Linked DNA regions of Homo sapiens: all the other regions are linked to region 1. The links are contacts of gene promoters, found by promoter capture Hi-C in human tissues and cell types (Jung and others, 2019). All regions are on one chromosome and are shown on one strand. Each heading gives the region's core, a stretch centred on a gene start or on the middle of the fragment in contact. The rest is flanking DNA. Distances are from core to core; before and after follow the strand shown. Region 1 holds the start of ATAD3A (ATPase family AAA domain containing 3A). Region 2 holds the start of CDK11B (cyclin dependent kinase 11B). Region 3 holds the start of SCNN1D (sodium channel epithelial 1 subunit delta).

Region 1 (3,964 bases), core at 499-2,998:
CTATAGCCTCAAGGGACAGAGGAGGCAGTCGGTGAGGAGGAGCCGCCCGTTTGCCTGGAGAGCAGCAAGGACAAAGCAATGGGCTCCGGCCGAATCTCGGCGACCCGCTGCCAGGAAAGGGGCACGGAGGAAGCCAGGAGCGTCGGGAGGGGCCGGGCTTGCAGAGGGGCTACCAGGCAGAGGGGCAGGGCAGGGGGCACCCGGGGAAAGGGGGCAGTCAACTCTGGAGAAACCTCTCTCACCTGCCAGCAGTGAGGCCAGGAAGGAGGGAAGGGATCAGAATGAAAGAGCCCACACCTGGAACACAATCCACAGGAAACAAAAGCCTGATGGAGGGCTCCCCACGGTGCACCTGGAGACCCTGCCCCGGGCCCCGCTCCACCACAGAGAGGGCAGACCAAGGCACTGGCAACGCCGGCAGAGCGGACTGCGGGTCAGGAGCTCCGGGGCCGCCAGGACTGGAGCAACTCAGAGGCACAGGTCTGCACTATGGGGAGGCGGCCTGAGGCTGCTCAACCAGGCCTGTACCACTGCAGGGGGCCGCAGGCTGATCACTACGATTCAGCTTCTGGAAGTGGGAGAAGTTTCAATCTCTAAGTGAAGTTAGCGGGTGAAAACCCCCAGGAACTAGGACACAAAGGAACCCTCCAAATAAGCCTGCAGCAAGAAAGTCAGTCACCAACATCCGCTGTCCTCCGAGGTGCCCTGAAGTCCAGCCCTTGATTCCCATCCTAACCTGATGGTTAAAATTACCGAGGAAGGCCATGAGCAGCGGCTCACGCCTGTCATCCCAGCGCTTTGGGAGGCCGAGGTGGGCGAATCACCTGAGGCCAGAATTCAAGACCAGCCTGAACAACATGGTGAGTGCTCACACCCTGAGGGCCTTGGGTCAGGGGTTTACTCAAGCTGAGCAGCACGGCCTGGCCTGTGGCTTCACAGACCTCGCCGTGCAAATGCTAACGTCTTCCAACAAGAAGTGCAAATCTGCTAGTCTCGTTAGAATCAAGTAACTCTCAAATACGCTTCCCTTGTTACGTGGAAACTGCTAGCAACCACCCAACAAACCCATCTACCCATCTGGCCACGCCTTGGCCTGTGCCACGTGGAGGCGGCAAGCGCAGAAGGATCCCGCACGCTCGGCGGTAACTGAAGACCACGGCCAGCCCCAGACCCTGACCCCTGTAACCTATGAGCGCCACCTCCGCACCGCTTTCCGCACCTGACCCGCTCCTGACAGCTGCAGAGGTGCAAACGGGTGACGGAAAGAGTCCGATCCTCCCGGCACGCGACACGGCTCCGGCCGGGGGTGCTCCGGGGGCGCAGTCTCGCCCGGGAAGTGGCTGCCGACAGCGGCGAGGAGCGGCAAGGGCCAGGGCTCCCGCTTCCCCGGCCCGTCCCGCCCGCCCGCCCGCGCCGCCCCGCCCCGCCGCACTCACGCGAGTGCTCCAGCTCGCGCGCCGCCTTGGCGGCGCGCTCCAGGCCGGTGGGGTCGAAGTTGCTCCATTTGTCCTTGGGCGCCGGCCGGTCTCCCAACCCGCGGTCCCCGCCGCCCTCGGCCCCGGGCTGCGCGGGCGGCAAAGGCGGCGGCGGCCCCGCGCCTTCACCCTTGGGGCCCTTGTTAATGCCGAAGAGCCACGACATGCTCGCACCGCCGCCGCCGCTACCGCCGCCGGGACCCCCACCCGAGTCTGACTCGCGCGCGGCTGGGAGCAGCCTCCACGCGCCGCGAGCCGGTGGTCACCGCCACTGCGCAGGCGCCACACACACCCCTTCCTCCCGGCGATAGAAGCGCGTAAGGGACACGCGCGCAGCCCTTGGATTGGCCCCGAGGACAGTGACGCCATAGCGACGGCGCCGCGACTGCCGAACAGGCTTTGGGAGCCAGCGGGGCGGGAGCGGCGAAGCATCTGGCTACGGGAGCCACGCCGGGACAAAATTCCCGAGGGACGTAGGCGAACCCAAGGCAGCGTCAGCCCCGCGCCGCATCCGCGTGGGCTCCGTTGCTAGGGGCTCCGTTGCTAGGGGCTCCGAGGAGTTCCGGCCTTGGCGGCAGCGGGTGGCAAGTTTCCAGGGAGCCCCAAGGTTCTCGATCCGTGCGGCGGGGCGCCCTGCGGTGAGTCCAGGACGCAGAGAAGAGTCTCGCGGGAACCTCACCCGAGGCGGCACCGGCGCCCGGGCAAGCCGAGCCCTTCCGCGATGAGTCGGCGCCCTGGGGTCGCTGCGCCAAGAGCTCAGGAGAGGCGCCTCCCCTCCTCGGTGTCTCCGCAGCCCGCACGGCCCTCCCGCCCAAGACCCCGGGGCGACCCCTTCCCGCGTGGCGGGGCCAGCGAGCTCCTCTTGCGGGGCGTGGACGGGGCCGGGGTGCCCGGGCAGGCGCCGCCCCGGAGCCCACGGTCCACGCGCTCCCAGCGGCCCTGACTTTCTCCTTGATGGAACTGGTTGACTTCACGGAATATATGGAGTGACTTTTCCCACTGGATTGGAAACTGTTTTAAGCCTGAATAATGTTAGATACAATGAGTTCTAAACTTCCCTTCAAAGAATCAGTATATCAGTATGTTCAGTCTTTGTCCTGCATTTTAAAGTCTACCTTCCTCGCAGTTTCAGTAAACAACCTTTTCCACCAGTTCTAGTCAGTAGTTGACATCTGTTGCCCTGGTCACCTGCTCCGTCCTAACTAATCCCGGTCTCCTGCTTTGACCTGAGTCACCTTTAGTTACCTGTCCCATAACCATTTTTCCCGCCAAACCACTCACCCCGCCACTCTGGCCCATACTCCTGCTCCCTTTAAAATAGCCAATGGGCACTAGTTTAGACTGTGCATTCTAACCCTAGCCAATAGGGGAACCACACAGCAGTAGGGGCTACCCGCGTCAGGAATAAGAACCCCTTCCCCTCCCTTGTCCAAGCGCTCGCCATTGCTCCATCTATGAGATGTCCCCTTCTATAGAAGTAAATTATCTAGCTGAGAAAAATTTATATTCGAGTTCTACTTCTTTGGCGGCACAGAAAATTTACATATAACACAGTGAGCTGCCGAGATCTCGTCACTGCACTCCAGTCTGGGCGACTGAGTCAGACTCTGTCAAAAAAAAAAAAAAAAGCCAGAAAATGCCGGCCAGGCGCGGTGGCTCACACCCGTAATCCCAGCACTTTGGGAGGCCGAGGTGGGCAGATCACCTGAAAACAGGAGTTTGAGACCAGCCGGGCCAACATGGTGAAACCCCTGTCAAAAATACAAAAATTAACCTGGGCATGGTGGCGTGCGCCTGTAATCCCAGCTACTCCGGAGGCTTAGGCGGGAAAACTGCTTGAACCCTGGAGGTGGAGGTTGAAGTGAGCCGAGATCAGGCCACTGCACTCCACCCTGGGCGAGCACGACTCCATCGCCAAAAAAAAAAGAAAAGAAAAAAAAAAGAAAAAGAAAACAGGGCAGGCGCGGTGGCTCACGCCTGTAACCCCGCCAGTTTGGGAGGCCGAGGCAGGAGGATTGCTTGAGCCCAGGAGTTGGAGACCAGCCTGGGCAACAAAGAGAGACCCCGTCTGTACCAAAAAAATAGGAGAGGAGGAGAAAAACCAAATGACTTCCCCAGCAATAGCCAGACGTCCCCCCACCCCCACCCCATGGCTGTAATCAAGGTTTTGGTTATTTATTTATTGAGAGGGTCTCACTCTGTCACCCAGGCTGGAGTGCAATGGTGCGATCTCAGCTCACTGCAACCTCTGCCTCCCATGCTCAGGCGATCCTCCTACCTCAGCCTCCAAGCCAAGAAGCTGGGACCACCGGCATGTGCCACCTGGCCCTTTTTTTTTTTTTTTTTTTTTTTAGAGGGAGTTTGACTCTTGTTGCCCATGCTGCAGTGCAATTCCATGGTCTCAGCTCAGTGCAACCTCCACTTCCCAGGCTCAAGTGATTCTCCTGCCTCAGCCTCCTGAGTACCTGGGATTTCAGGCACTTGCCACC
Region 2 (3,930 bases), core at 1,431-3,930, 150 kb before region 1:
TCAGTATTTATATAACTAGATTAGTGCTTTCTAGCAAACGGTTCTGTTAATTAGCGAGTCACTGTTGATTCTGCTGTGGTGGTAAGTTGATACCGTGTAACTAATCCCGTGGATGCCTCCTCGTTATTTTTGTCCAAACGAAGCAGCCGTGGTAGTAGCTGTCTATGATTCTTGCTCAGCAAAGTAAAATAAATGTTAAATATGGACTGCTTTGTTTTCTTCCTTGTGGAACTCTGGTGTTCATGCTACTTTGTTCACCGGTGGGGCTGGCTGTTGCTAGCAAAGAGGCTCTTCACAGAAGTGGCTGAACCCAAAGTTCTGGTTGGGAAAGGCCTTTGTGGCAGCTCCTATCAAGCGCAAGTGCGAGGCCACCCCCTCCTCGTGGGCTCTGGGGTCGATTTTGTTAGGGTTTGACATGAGTGGCTGCATTTGGGTACTCACAGATTTCACAAAGGAAGGGTAAACTGGAGATTTTTGGCCGGGCACGGTGGCTCATGACTATAATTTCAGCACTGTGGGAGGCTGGTGGGCAGATACTTTAGGTCAGGAGTTCAAGACCAGCCTGGCCAACATGGCAAAATCCTGTCGCTACTAAAAATACAAAAGTTAGCCAGGTGTGGTGGCGCACGCCTATAATCCCAGCTACTCGGGAGGCTGAGGCAGGAGAATCACTTGTACCCAGGAGGCGGAGGCTGCAGTTACCCAAAATTGTGCCACTGCACTCCAGCCTGGGTGACACAGCGAGACTTTTTCTCAAAACAGAAAAAAACGTGCTGTGGCTCACGCCTGTAATCCCAACCCTTTGGGAGGCCAAGGCAGGCAGATCACAAGGTCATGAGATCAAGACCATCCTGGCTAATACAGTGAAACCCCATCTCAACTAAAAACACAAAAAAATTAGCCGGGCGTAGTGGTGGACGCCTGTAGTCCCAGCTACTCGGGAGGCTGAGGCTCGCAGGATAATGGCGTTGAACCCGGGAGGTGGGGCTTGCAGTGAGCCGAGATTGCGCCACTGCACTCCAGCCTGGGCGACAGAGCAAGACTCCGTCTCAAAAAAAAATAAAAATAAAAAAATAGGGAGATTTCCCCAGTTACCAAGAACTCAGGAAGCAACATTAAGAGCTTGGGGGAGGCCAGGCGCGGTGGCTCACGCCTGTAATCCCAGCACTTTGGGAGGCAGAGGCAGGCTGATCACGAGGTCAGGAGATTGAGACCATCCTGGCTAACACGGTAAAACCCCGTCTCTACCCAAAATAAAAAAAAAATTAGCCGGGCATGGTGGCAGGCGCCTGTAGTCACAGGTACTCAGGAGCCTAATGCGGGCGAATGGAGTGGAGGCGGGAGAATGGCGTGAACCCGGGTGGCGGAGCTTCCAGTGACCCGAGATCGCGCCACTGCACTCCAGCCTGGGCAACAGAGCGAGACTCCGTCTCAAAAAAATAAAAATAAAAAAAGAGCTTGGGTACACAAAGCAAGCAGCATTTCATTCCGGGATGAAAAAAATTCCGATACCCATCGCCCTTCTTGGGCCCTTGTCAGTTTCTTGCCACATCTTTCATTTTCCCATTTCAGGCCCAGTAAATGCGGATGTTTATCTTCCATTGTTTGTTTCCTGAGATTCAGATGTCTAAAGCATTTTTCTGTGACTTTTCAAGTCAAGAGGAAAACCTGACATATGGAAAGGGAATTAATTGCTCGTTTTATCCTCTTCTCCTGCAATGCTCTGAATCCATGGGTTTGGAGTGGGGCCCTGGGAGTTGGGGGAAGCACCATACCCAGTGAGTCTGCACTTTGAGGACCCACTGCCAGTGTCAGCTTCAAAATCACATTGTAAAAGGCCGGGCGCGGTGGCTCACGCCTGTAATCCCAGCACTTTAGGAGGACGAAGCGGGCGGATCACTTGAGGTCAGGAGTTCGAGACCAGCCTGGCCAATATGGCGAAACCTCGTCTCTACCAAAAATATAAAAATTAGCCGGGCGTGGTGGCGCGGGCCTGTGGTTCCAGCTACTCGGGAGGCTGAGGCAGGAAAATTCCTTGAACCCGGGAGGAGGCTGCAGTGAGCCAAGACCACGCCACTGCACTCCAACCTGGGCGGCAGAGCAAGGCTCCGACTCAAAAGTAAATACATGAATAAATAAAATAAAATCACATCGTAAGAGCTCTCCCTGCCCTGTTTCTGAGTAAGGTTCAGAGTTAAATTCCGAGATCGGCCTTTACAAGACACACAGACCTGAGGCGCCTCACGAGGTAACCAGCAGGTAAATGGAGCGCGCTCCACCCACCCGCCACTAGGGGTCCCAGCGGTCAAGGGGGTGGAATGCGGGCGTCCATCGCGAAGGCATTCTGCTCGCAAGCCTTGGCACAGGCGCGGGCTTCGCTACCGGAAAAGTCCCGGTAGGATTCCGGAAGCCGGCCACGCGTTCCGCGCAGGCGCAAACTGCTCCAAAAGTGGGCGTCGCTCCTCCGGAGTCCCGATTCCTGCGTCACAGCCCGCGCCGAAGTCGGAAGTGCGCTCACCGGGCTGTTTCTTCTGGCGTCCTGGACCTGAGCAAGCGCTGTTTTATGCGTTATCATCCCGCGCAGACACAGGAAGTGCCGCACAGAGCGAGCCCCTGTCGTTGTCTCGAGTTCTGGGCCGGAGGTCGGCTATTATATCATCATTACGCGCCAATACAGGAAGTGACGATACTTTTGGCGCGCGCCGGTTGCTGTTTCTTCTCTGGCTCCGGGACCGGCGGCGGCGGCGGCGGCAGCGGCGGCGGCGTAGGGGTGAGTTCCGACTGGGCGGACCAGGTGTGGGAGCGCGAGGAGAACTGCGCACCGAGGTCTTTCTTCCGAGCAGGCCTCGGAGCGGGGCGGACCCGGGCCCGGGGGCGAGCGACACCCTCGCTTCCGCGGACAGTCTCATCCCGCACGGAACTTTGGGTGGTGGAGGCGGCGGGTCCAAACGCTGTCTGGAGCCAACGTCTGCCAGGCTGAACCTCAAGTGTGCGGGACTGAACCCGAGGAAATAGCCCAGTGCCCGGGTCAGGTGGCCTTGTTCGCGAGCACATCTCGGAGCATCTCCCCGGTCTCAAGGTGCAGCTGTCCAGTGTGCTAGTGGCTTCACGTAGTCCAAGCGGTCTTTCTAGCAGATTCTGACAGTAAAAGCAGTGTTTGATGAGTGGCAGGTCCTGAGTTAAGAGCCTTTAAACGGATGATCTTTAATCCGCGATCGATACTATCACGTAGGTGTTGTTATTCTGGTTGTACGGAAGACTAAACTGAGGTGAATTACGTTACCCAAGACCATACAAGAATGACAGAAACGAGACTTGATTTCAAGCGGTCATTTTTCAGAACCCATCACTCTTTTTTGTCGCCCATGCTGCAGCGCAGTGGCTGTTCACAAGCGCACTTCAGCCTGGAACTCCTGGGCTCAATCGGTCTCCCATCTCAGCTTGCAGAGTATATGGGACTACAGGCGCTCGCCACCTTGCCTGGCTTACAACTTATCATTCTTGTTTTTTTTTCTTTTTTTTTTGAGACGGGGTCTTGCTGGAGTGCAGTGACGCGACCTCGGCTCACCGGAACCTCCGCCTTTCGGATTCAAGCGATTCTGCTGCCTCGGCCTCCCGAGTAGCTGGGATTACAGGCACCCGCCACCACGCCCAGCTAAGTTTTGTATTTTTAGTGGAGACAGGGTTTTCGCCGTGTTGGCCAGGCTGGTCTTGACCTCCTGACCTTGTGATCCACCCGCCTCAGCCTAGAGCTTACTTTTTTTTTTTTTTTTTTTTTTTTAACCAAGTCTTACTTTGTTATCTAGGCTGGAGTGCAGTGGCGCAGTCTTGGCTCATTGCAGCCTTGACCTCTCTGATTCAAGTGATCCTCCTGCCTCTAGCAGCCTCCTTCCTGTAGCTAGGAATACAGGCACGCGCCACCACACTGGG
Region 3 (3,845 bases), core at 283-2,782, 230 kb after region 1:
CAGGCGGGGACAAGGTCCTAGGTGCTTGCCAGAGATTGTGGCTGGAAGCAGCCTGTGCCTCCCTGTGTCCCCGGGAGTGGCCTGGCAGACAGCCCAGCCTTGGTGCAGGGTGCAGAGAGAGAAAGAGCCCAGGTCCGGCCAGTGGGGCCCGGTCCAGCCAAAGGGCAGCTTGCAGGAGCAAGGCCCCCGGCTTCCTGTAGGAGGGGGAGCCCTGGCCGGGGGCAGAGCACCCCTTCCATGACCCGTATGCCCTGCAGGGCCTCAGTCAGAGCACATCTCGGCTGGATCACGCAGCTCCCGGCTCCACCCCCCTCCCCTCCTCCCGGGCAAGGCCTCTAAGGGCTGAGGTTCAGTCACCTGTCCCACACCCCTGTATCGGGCCAGAGAGTAGGCAGAGGGGGTAGCCACAGAGCACATGTCCAGCACTGGTGAATCCACATGGTCCTCCCCCTCTTCTGGGCCATCCCCTCGCTGGCCCGGTGCAGGGGGTGGGGTGGGGCGAACCCAGCTCCCGGCATGTGGGGGTCCTGTGGTCACTGCACCATGACCAGGTGAGCCTGAATGAGAGAAGGGACGGGCAGGCATCCCTGGCTCCCTTTGGGCCCATGCCTCTGCTCTCTCCCAGGAAAGACGGCCAGGCCCCATTGACCGAGCATGGCTGTGAGCTCACCTCCTTGGGCCGCTGAGGTGGCCGGGCCACAGGTAACGAGGGAGCGGTGTTGTCTTCTGTGACAGCACTGCCCTGGAGATGGCAGGCGCCTGGCATCTGTGGGACCCCAGCCAGGACCTCCTATCCCAGAGCCCCGTTTCCTCCCCTGGGGTGAGCGTCCCCCACTCAGGGTCACTCTGAGTCAGCCCTGGGACGGTTCTGGTGCAATAGACAGGCAGCCCAAGGTCGGGATTCCCGTGGGCATGGGCAGGCCAGGGGTGGCCTGGGGTCCCTCTGGGGTCCTGCACCCAGGCAGGTGAACAGCCTCCCAGGCAGAGCCCCCTCGGCCCCGGGCATCAACTGCACTGTCCAGTGGAGCCTCCGCAGAACAGGCACTAAGGTGGCACCAAGGTGCCCCCGGCTGCTGGCCTGGGTGGGTGCTGAGGGTGGGAGTGTGGAGCTTGGGGTCTGGCCGGTGTCCCCTGCTGGGAGGAGTAAGGTGCGTGTGGGCTGCCTTCTAGGTTCCCTCATAAACCAAAAATAAAATTATAAGCCCTGAACTGTCTGGATGGACCCCTGGTCTTAGCCATGGGCATTCCAAAGTTAACCTGAAAAACTAGCTCAGCTGTGATGGGAAGGGAGTCGGACGCACCTCATGCCTCCTCCCTGCTGGAATTCAGGCACAGCATCAGCATCACCTCAGGCCTTGAGTCTGATGAGAAGCATTTATAGTTGATTCTCTCTGAGGCTTGTGACCTGGTGGCTTCATCTGCGATAAGACCTTCATCTGCACAACGCCATACTGTAACCAGACATTCCCTTCTACTGATAACAACTCTTTTTTTTTTTTATTTATTGAGATGGAGTCTCGCTGTCGCCCAGGCTGGAGGGCAGTGGCGCGATCTCGGCTCACTGCAGGCTCCGCCCCCCGGGTTCACGCCATTCTCCTGCCTCAGCCTCCTGAGTACCTGGGACTACAGGCGCCCGCCACCACGTCTGGCTAATTTTCTGTATTTTTAGTAGAGACGGGGTTTCACCGTGTTAGCCAGGATGGTCTCGATCTCCTGACCTCGTGATCCGCCCACCTCGGCCTCCCAAAGTGCTGGGATTACAGGCATAAGCCACTGCGCCCAGCCTAATTTTTGTATATTTTTTTAGTAGAGATGGGGTTTCACCATATTGGCCAGGCTGGTCTTGATCTCTTGACCTGGTGATCCGCCTGCCTCGGCCTCCCAAAGTGCTGAGATTACGGGTGTGAACCACTGCGCCCGGCCACCTTTTTCTTAAGACAAGGAGAACGACTCCCTTTTGGGTACCCCATTTGGTTTCTAGCTCGGACGTGCGTTCCTAAGGGTCTTCTCTGTTGCTTTTTCTCCCAAAATTAAGCCCAACTGGCTTGTGCGTGCATTTGCATGAGGAACTGAATTGTTCTTTGCATAGATAAATGAGAGACTGAGTTTTCTCAGCTCCAGAAAGAAAGGCATTTTGCTCCTCCCAGCTGAAAGGCGCCCCTGGGTGACTGTGAGCCAAGTGGGAGTATCTCGTGGGCTGATCCCCCACGACGTGCAGCAGCCCCACAGGGAACCCCCCAACACAATTAGTTTAAAAAGGTTTGTCTGCTGGGTGCAGTGGCTCACGCCTGTAATCCCAGCACTTTGGGAGGCCGAGGCGGGTGGATCACGAGGTCAGGTGATCGAGACCATCCTGGCTAACACGGTGAAACCTCGTCTCTGCTAAAAACACAAAAAATTAGCCGGGCATTGTGGCGGGAGCCTGTAGTCCCAGCTACTTGGGAGGCTGAGGCGGGAGAATGGCGTGAACCCGGGAGGCAGAGCTTGCAGTGAGCCGAGATCGTGCCACTGCACTCCAGCCTGGGCGACAGAGCGAGACTCCGTCTCAAAAAAAAAAAAAAAAAAAAGGTTTGTCCAGGAAATGCACATAGGAGCTGGTCACTCTGTGTTTTGAGTCCTCTCGGAGGTGTTGGACTTCTAGAGAGAGAAACAGAGACACGTAAGAGGGCGAAGATGCCTCAGTGGTGACACACTGGGGAGTCCCGCCCACGACCCGTCCACGACCGGCACACTCAACCTGCTCCACGGAACCCCATTCCACAGCTCGGTTCCTCTGCGCCCCACCTGCTCCACGGAACCCCAGTTCCTCCATACTCAACCTGCTCCACGGAACCCCAGGCCACAGCTCAGTTCCTCCGCGCCCCACCTGCTCCATGGAACCCCAGGCCACAGCTCGGTTCCTTTCAAGAAAAAAAAAAGTGGGAAATAAATAATGTAAGCCTCAGCAAAGACAAGAGGGCGACCTCCTTCCAGGCACCCCGCTGGTTTCAGGCGCCTCTACCTGCAAGTGTTGGTATAAAACTGAACATGTCGCGGGCATGCTGGGTTTCCTAGTGCCCCAGCTGGTTCCATATTATGGTCTTTTGGGGCACATTTTAAACTGATGGGCAAATTCCATCCAGGAAAAATTCAGAGCCCAAAGGTCAGCCTGCAACTACAGAACCATAGAGTTCCTGGCCAGGCGCAGTGGCTCACGCCTGTAATCCCAGCACTTTTGGAGGCCAAGGCGGGCGGATCACCTGAGGTCAGGAGTTCGAGACCAGCCTGACCGACAGAGTGAAACCCCATCACTACTAAAAATACAAAAATGAGCCGAGCGTGGTGGCATGCACCTGTAATCCCAGCTACTTGGGAGGCTTAGGCAGGAGAATAGCTTGAATCTAGAAGGCGGAGGTTGCAGTGAGCTGAGATCGTGCCATTGCACCCCAGCCAGGGCTGCAAGAACAAAACTCTGTTTCAAAAAAAAAAAAAAAAAAGAACTATAGAGTTCCTAAGTTCTCTATCTCTCTGTTTCCTTTGCTGCCTGCCTTAAAGCTGCTGTTACACTTTTTGTTTTTTTTAGGTAGAGTCTCACTGTGTTGCCCAGGCTAGAGTGCAGGGGTGCGATCTCGGCGCACTGCAAACTCTGCCTCCTGGGTTCAAACGATTCTCCTGCCTCAGCCTTCCAAGTAGCCAGGATTACAGGTGTGCGCCACCACGCCTGGCTAGTTTTTGTAAATTTAGTAGAGACGTGGTTTCACCATGTTGGCCAGGCTGGTCTTGAACTCCTGGCCTGAGGCAATCCACTCACCTTGGCCTCCCAAAGTGCTGGGATTACAGTTGTGAGCCACCGTGCCTGACCAGCT

Evidence for each region. The method cuts DNA at HindIII sites, captures the fragments that hold promoters and counts their contacts. A contact is called where the count stands out against the background at its distance.
Region 2: the fragment with the promoter of CDK11B here is called in contact with the fragment with the promoter of ATAD3A in region 1 in 5 of the 25 tissues and cell types used here (adrenal gland, dorsolateral prefrontal cortex, heart left ventricle and 2 more).
Region 3: the fragment with the promoter of SCNN1D here is called in contact with the fragment with the promoter of ATAD3A in region 1 in 1 of the 25 tissues and cell types used here (lymphoblastoid cells).

What each region holds. Positions count from the first base shown.
Region 1 is chr1:1,509,946-1,513,909 of GRCh38, reverse strand. It overlaps ATAD3A (ATPase family AAA domain containing 3A), which reads right to left and starts at 1,748. Exons shown (of 16, transcript NM_001170535.3): 1 at 1,437-1,748. The coding sequence starts at 1,641. RefSeq lists silencers at 1,631-1,790, 2,241-2,440 and an enhancer at 1,941-2,000. The HindIII fragment of the contact is 15,639 bases long and covers 1-3,964 here.
Region 2 is chr1:1,657,754-1,661,683 of GRCh38, reverse strand. It overlaps CDK11B (cyclin dependent kinase 11B), which reads left to right and starts at 2,680. Exons shown (of 20, transcript NM_033486.3): 1 at 2,680-2,770. It overlaps SLC35E2B (solute carrier family 35 member E2B), which reads left to right. Exons shown (of 10, transcript NM_001290264.2): 10 at 1-206. RefSeq lists enhancers at 2,294-2,573, 2,594-2,683, 2,115-2,837. The HindIII fragment of the contact is 36,520 bases long and covers 1-3,930 here.
Region 3 is chr1:1,278,123-1,281,967 of GRCh38, reverse strand. It overlaps SCNN1D (sodium channel epithelial 1 subunit delta), which reads right to left and starts at 1,532. Exons shown (of 18, transcript NM_001130413.4): 1 at 1,302-1,532; 2 at 671-742; 3 at 358-557. The coding sequence starts at 1,306. LINC01786 (long intergenic non-protein coding RNA 1786) reads right to left here. Exons shown (of 3, transcript NR_185846.1): 3 at 1,361-2,900. The HindIII fragment of the contact is 6,841 bases long and covers 850-3,845 here.